2 separate regions of the Homo sapiens genome follow, and region 2 is linked to region 1. Evidence: promoter capture Hi-C in human tissues and cell types (Jung and others, 2019). All regions are on one chromosome and are shown on one strand. Each heading gives the region's core, a stretch centred on a gene start or on the middle of the fragment in contact. The rest is flanking DNA. Distances are from core to core; before and after follow the strand shown.

What was found. The method cuts DNA at HindIII sites, captures the fragments that hold promoters and counts their contacts. A contact is called where the count stands out against the background at its distance.
Region 2: a contact is called between a fragment that was not itself captured here and the fragment with the promoter of MROH2B in region 1, in 2 of the 25 tissues and cell types used here (dorsolateral prefrontal cortex and stomach).

Annotation. Positions count from the first base shown.
Region 1 is chr5:41,069,766-41,073,028 of GRCh38, forward strand. It overlaps MROH2B (maestro heat like repeat family member 2B), which reads right to left and starts at 1,577. Exons shown (of 42, transcript NM_173489.5): 1 at 1,060-1,577. The coding sequence starts at 1,087. It overlaps LOC105374739 (a long non-coding RNA gene), which reads left to right and starts at 1,592. Exons shown (of 6, transcript XR_001742650.2): 1 at 1,592-2,163. The HindIII fragment of the contact is 9,443 bases long and covers 1-3,263 here.
Region 2 is chr5:41,352,694-41,355,910 of GRCh38, forward strand. All of the region lies in intron 2 of PLCXD3 (phosphatidylinositol specific phospholipase C X domain containing 3), which reads right to left. Among named protein-coding and RNA genes, the nearest start is that of C6, 140 kb to the left of the region's middle. The HindIII fragment of the contact is 3,710 bases long and covers 1-3,217 here.

The sequences.
Region 1 (3,263 bases), core at 327-2,826:
AAAAATATGAATTGAAATATATGCTGAAATGCCCTCCTGTTAATTATTTTGTAATCAACACAGAAAGTTCATTCATTCATTTATCCTCTCTCTCTCTCTCTCCCTTGACTGCTAGCTCTTTGATGGCAGGAACTGTTTTATTCATATCCATGACATAAATGAAACTAGCAGATGCTAAGTTATTATTATTTTTGAAACCTGAATCAAATGTGAAAGGGAAGATAAAAGATGCCGGATTCCTATGTATCCCTCCAGGCAAGTGGGCATTGCCTTGTAAATTCTCTCTTGCAGGATTTAGCTCTCAGAGTCAATGAGGTGAATTTCTCACTCCTGACTTAAGCATTAGAAGGCAGGGGTGCAACATAGCTGTTTATTTTTCACTGGTCCTCCCCTCAATACCTCTCCCATCTTCTTTTTCCATACCCTTTTCAACTCCACCTATTCTCCTGTGCCTGCCAACTCCCTCTTTTGGTCACATGCTAATGAAGGCTTCCTGTTTTCTGACAATGACCTAAATGTGTTTGACTTGCATTTTCTAGGAATATATGTTTTTGAATAAAGCACTCTAGAAAACTGGAAAAAAAATTGAGTCAAAGGAATTGAGCAATTTCAAGCTACATGGCAAGTTGGTAGGAGAAATACTTTTGGAGATGAAGATTTCTTATTAACCTCCACACCAAACAACATACTCATTTAGGGCAATCTTTTTGGCAAAGTAGAAAGGCAGCCATACCTGGAAATTGGGAGAAATACTTCCAAAGGACTCTTCTAGTATTTAAAATTAAATAACAAACTGCCTTTCTTTGATATGTAGCCACTTTCTCCTCAGGTAGACTCTAAATTTTAAAGCACAACCATCTCTTAGGCTTCCAGTCTATTATTGGTCCTTCACAATCAGCATGATTTTATTATGTATTTAGCATACCATTTCATAAATCCTTTGAGGTGTACAGTCCTCCCACAATGACGCGCCACTCCCAGCCCTCATATATACTTATAATTCCACAGAAACAAAACACAGGGAAGAGCCTTGGCTTCTCAGGATCTGATGATGCTTACCTATGGATTCCTCTGTACTAAGTGTCATGTCTTGGCTGTTTCAGGGTCTCTAAAAGATAGCACCTAAGTATTAGAAATAGTAAGGCTAAAAAATCAAAGAGGCAGGTTGGCAAGTTTCTCATATAAGGTTCACATAAGCCTCTCTAAATGAAAGTGCCTCCTCCACTTGATTGGCACAATGGTCTGGGAGCTTCCAGAGATGGGCTTGCTGTTGAAGTTGATACTGTATTCTACCACTATGACATTGTCTTGCGTCTGAACTCCTGCTAACCAACAAAATGGCTGCATCTCACCAAATATTGTCCCTTTGGTGACCAGAGTATTTGGGAAAGAAGTAATTAGAGACTGGGATTCAAACCATTGTTGCAGACCAAAGGTGCTCCTCTCCCTAAACTTGAGTCCATTGATCACAAATTCAGGAATGGTTTTCAGTAGTTGCTTTACTGTCCTGATGTTGGGAAAGGCTTTATGGTGAACTCGTTGATTGTTACACTTAGTGAAAATCAGTCATATGAACTGAGCATGCTCAGTGGACTGGAATGCACTTCAGGGGCAGTTGGATGGAATGTCCAACTGACAGCAGCAAAGTGAAGACCTCTCTACCTCCCTCTCCATTAATTCCTCCCTGGCATGTTCAGGATCTTGGCCTCACTCCAGGCTCAGGCTTTTTCTCTGTCTTCAGCTTTCTTTTTGTTTTCAAATTATTTTTTATCTAGATCAATTTTCCATAATGTTTTCAACTTATCTAGCATGAATTGAAATCTGGTCCCCAACTATAAATCTATGTGATGACAATCTTCAATATATGTCCAGACTCTATGTGAATATGGAGGATGATAGAGAAAGGGAAGGCAGTACTGCTAGTCTATAGGGCTAAATGTAGAATGGGCTGAGGAGGGGAGCTCATGACAATTTTCATCTGCTGCTGCTTTTTTGGCCATCTTAACTTCATCGGTGAAGCTTATTCCAGATTCAAAGGTCAACTGCTTCCAACTAAACCTTTGAATTCATCATTCTTCTCATAGACATTTTGCACTGTATTAAAGAGATCCTCAACATTTTCCGCTTCCCAAGTCAGCATCACTTTCAGAGTTTTGTCTCCAGGTGACTTTATCATGGGATTTACTTGGTATCCTTATTTAAAATGTGAATTCCCAGGCCCCACTTCAGACCCAGTAAATTAGAATGAGGGGGCAGCAATCTATATATTTAATGTGCGCCCCTGGTGATTCTTAGGTTCACTGAACTTTGAAAAGCACTGACCAAGGTCCTTGCCCAAACATTCATTAGTGGATCAGTAAATAGCAGTTAACTGAAGAATGTTTGTTGTGGTTGGGCAAGGAGCTCTTCCCCAGCATCATGACTCACTGAAGAATAGGCCAAGTTTGGTTAGTCAGGGAGGTACTGGGGTGATTAGAGGCATCCCGAAACTCTTAACATCTATAAGATGTTAAGTCTACTTGTAGTAAATAAAACAACAGATTCCCTATAAGGGAAAAAATGATGTTAGAAATTATGTGCTCTTAGAGTCTTAAAAAACAATGTACAGCAGAATCAATAATAAGAAAGCTAGCCATTTAGGTAATTGTTACAACCATTTTCTTAATATTTTTGTGAATGGTGACAAATGATTTTTCTGTATGTCTGTATATAAAGACTTCCTTGATTTCATAGAGATTAGAGAAGTTAGGAGATAATTGATTTATTTTGACTTTTAATTTATTCATCGCTGCAATCAAAACACAACTTTTTGCTAAAATCCTTTCAGACAAAGTAAATTCACTCATTGAAACCAATACTGCAGATAGTTTTAAAATCCCCAAATCCTCAAAATAGCTGATTTGCTGTCATTTTATTTCATTTTTCAGTCGCCTGCTTGTTACATCTTCCCATTATTTCTTCCTCTTCTCATTGCATGAGGCTAACACAATATGGATTTGATTTCTCTAAGACTCTAAGAGGATCCTAAACACGAATTCTCAAAGTGAATAGGATGGCATGTGCTAACTAATTAAGTACTGTTTCTAGATATTTGTGAGGGAGCCTAAATCTAGCCTGCTAAGGAATTAGAGTGTCTCACTGGATATGTGGTAGCCATCCCCTTTCAATGTAACTTGTCAAATGAAGCTACCCAATCCCAGGCCTACTATGTTCCCACATGATGTTATCAGACAAAAATATTAATAAGGCAGTAAAGGTAAAAT
Region 2 (3,217 bases), core at 568-3,067, 280 kb after region 1:
AATACACATCTGAAGAATTCTTAACAGCTGAAAAATTCTTTGTTCAGGGAGACAAATGGTTTTTTAACAAATCATTCTCTTTGTAGCTGAGTAATTTTTTTTTAAGTTTGAGGTAATTTTCTAGGAGAGTTCTAAAGAGTGGAGTTAATTACAAGAAAGGCCCATTGTGTCATCACTGATTGTAGAATACTTCCCAGGGTTTGACTTATTTGAAGGACAATCTCCTTAGTGAAAAATCTTAAAGAGCAAGAAAATATGACGACTTTCTCATATGATTTAAAGCCAGTGCCTATCATGGCTAAGAAGGTTTGCTAGAGGTTTGAATAATCCTCATGGCACAGTGAACTTTTGGTTTAACTACTGGAATGTTCAGTCAAAACCAACATGTTGCACACTCAGCTTTTTTTTTTTTTTTTTGAGACAGAGTCTCGCTCTGTTGCCCAGGCTGGAGTGCAGTGGCGCGATCTCCGCTCACTGCAAGCTCCACCTCCCGGGTTCATGCCATTCTCCTGACTCAGCCTCCCGAGTAGCTGGGATTACAGGCGCCCGCCACCATGCTCGGCTAATTTTCTGTATTTTTTTTTTTTTCAGTAGAGACAGGGTTTCACTGTGTTTGCCAGGATGGTCTCAATCTCCTGACCTCATGATCTGCCCGCCTCGGCCTCCCAACGTGCTGGGATTACAGGCGTGGGCTACCGTGCCCTGCCTACACACTCAGCTTTTAAGAGAAAAAGCAAAACACAAGAAAATAAATTCATATCAGGAGTTTTATATAAGTAGGATTTCCTGGGATATGGTCTGAGGTCAGTAAACACCTTGTATGTATGTAGGCTTGATATTTTTATTCATTCAACAAATATTTATTGAGCATCTACTATATGCCAGGAATTGTTCTAGGCTCTGGAGACACAAGAGTGAGCAAAAGAGAAAAAAATCCATGCCTTTGTGTAGCTTCGCTTTTATTGAAGGGAGAAAGATAATAAATGAATTATTAGGTAAAATATGGAGTTACGTTGTGTGATGAAATCACTCACTGGGGAAGCAATAGTTCAGGATTCTTTTCTTCTGAGTTTGTTCTAGTTGGAGACTTAGGAGTTGGTGGTGTGGTAGAGACACGTTTTCTCTGGGCTCCAGTAGTAACTTATTTCTCTACTGTGGGTATCAATGACTCTGAATTTTCTACTGAACTACAGATAGCTGCCTCACCAGAATTTGAACTTCTCTAGATAAGAACTGTTTCTTTTATCTTTATATCTTTGGTGCCTAGAATATGTGCCCATTTTTCATGAAATACCTTCCACTGGTTTCTGAGAATCCATACTTCCTCTAGACTTTTTTCTATTTTCTTCCAACTTTTGGTAGCCCCACAGCTTTTTTGCAACCACTTTTCTTCTGCCCAAGCCTAAAATGTGATGATTATCAGAGTTCCAGCCAATCCTTTATGGATTCTAATTATCTCTCAATGATATTCCTATAGCTTTAATTCCCAGCTAGATATTTACAACCTCCCAAACTACTTTTGCAGCCCGGACTTCTCTCTGGATGCTAGAGAACCAGGCTCTTCTATCCAAGCAGACTTATGATCAGCAGGACCTGAATGTCCTACAAACCTCTCAGAGTCTTCATATTTGAAGCAAATGGTCATCATCCCTCCCTCAACTTGCTCTATGCCCAATGTTTCTGACTTCAGTGAATGGCATCAGAAGTGACCTAAGCCAGAAGCTTCTCTCTTTTTTTTCTTTGACTCCTCATTTCCTCCCCTTTCCCTAAAACAAGCCAATTGTTCAACTCCTTTAGATTCTACCTCACTAACATATTTTAAATCTCTGTCCATTTTTTTCAATTCCTATGACCACACCTCAGTTTAGCCCATAGTCATATGGTATCTAAATTACTTGCCACAGCCTCATTCAATGACACACATGTACTGACTATATCATGTACCTAGATCCTGGGTAGCAAAAATAGAAGCCCGTGCTCCTTTGGGGATGTTGGTGTGATAACTCCTCTTTGGTTTCCCTACCTGTAATATTGTCTCACTCAAACTCATTTTTTTAAACTGTAGATAGAGTGATTTGTCTAAATCCAAATCTGATCATGTTAGTTCCCTGCATAAAATTCTTCAAATCCTTTAATTTGTCTTCACTCTTCTCAGGAAAACCCTCAAATTTCTTAGCATGAAATCCAAGGAAGGCCCCTTATAATATGAACCATTATTCTTTCTCTAGATTAATCTTTTGCACTAATTCCAAATGCCACATTACAGCACACAAAGCCACTTGAAGTTTCCCCAAATGGTATGCTGTCTTACCTCCACAGAAAACATGTAGTTTTCTATGACTAAAGAAAAATCTTCCATCTGAATATAGACACACATCAAGCTTCCCTTTCTCCAGTTGTTCCTCTTTACTCCAAGACAAACCTCACTGTGCCACCATCCTGCTCCTTCCTTAACACTAGACTGATACCAGGCCTTAGTCTACCAAGAGTGTAGAAATAGGTAGTCTCTTGATTATATGACAGACAGAAAATACCCGTGGAGTTTTACATAACATATCTCCTAATCTGATGGATTATGGAATGTGAATGATTCTTCTGTCTTTGGAGATCATAAAATGGACAGAGCTACAAAGAACTACAAAGTGTTTAGAACAACACTTTTCCAACTAGAATAGAGATAATGCATTCCAGAACACTGCAGCTTGCATAATTATCTTTCTAGGCAATAAGTACTTGTCTGAAGTAAGAACCATAATATCATAATCCAACCCCTATGCTCCTGTTTCAACCTGAAGCCACACCCTTTTCATGAACTCAGTCAGCCATCAGTTGTCAATGTCCACTTATGCTCCATCCAAGCCCTTTCCCTGCTACTCCTGGAGAGGACCTCAATATCAGCTAGGGGAGCTGGAAGACTATGCTTAGGGATTTTTTTGTAACTGCTTTGACACAGACTTTATATGTTTAAAGGAAATGAACATCTTTGCATTGCCTTCATTCACCAAATGATGTCTTCTATCCATGCATGCTGCCCTAGTCACGAGAGTGGGTTGCATGTAACATACTTGTGATTCCATGAAGAGTGGGCACAGGGGAGTGCTGGTCAGGCTAAAGTTTGGGACAGATGAAGATGATATTAGGAGAAGAAGAAAATAACTTCTGCTCACCACCATCAAAGATGAGTTTCCCATGAGTATATATTTTTTTCCTTTGGGCA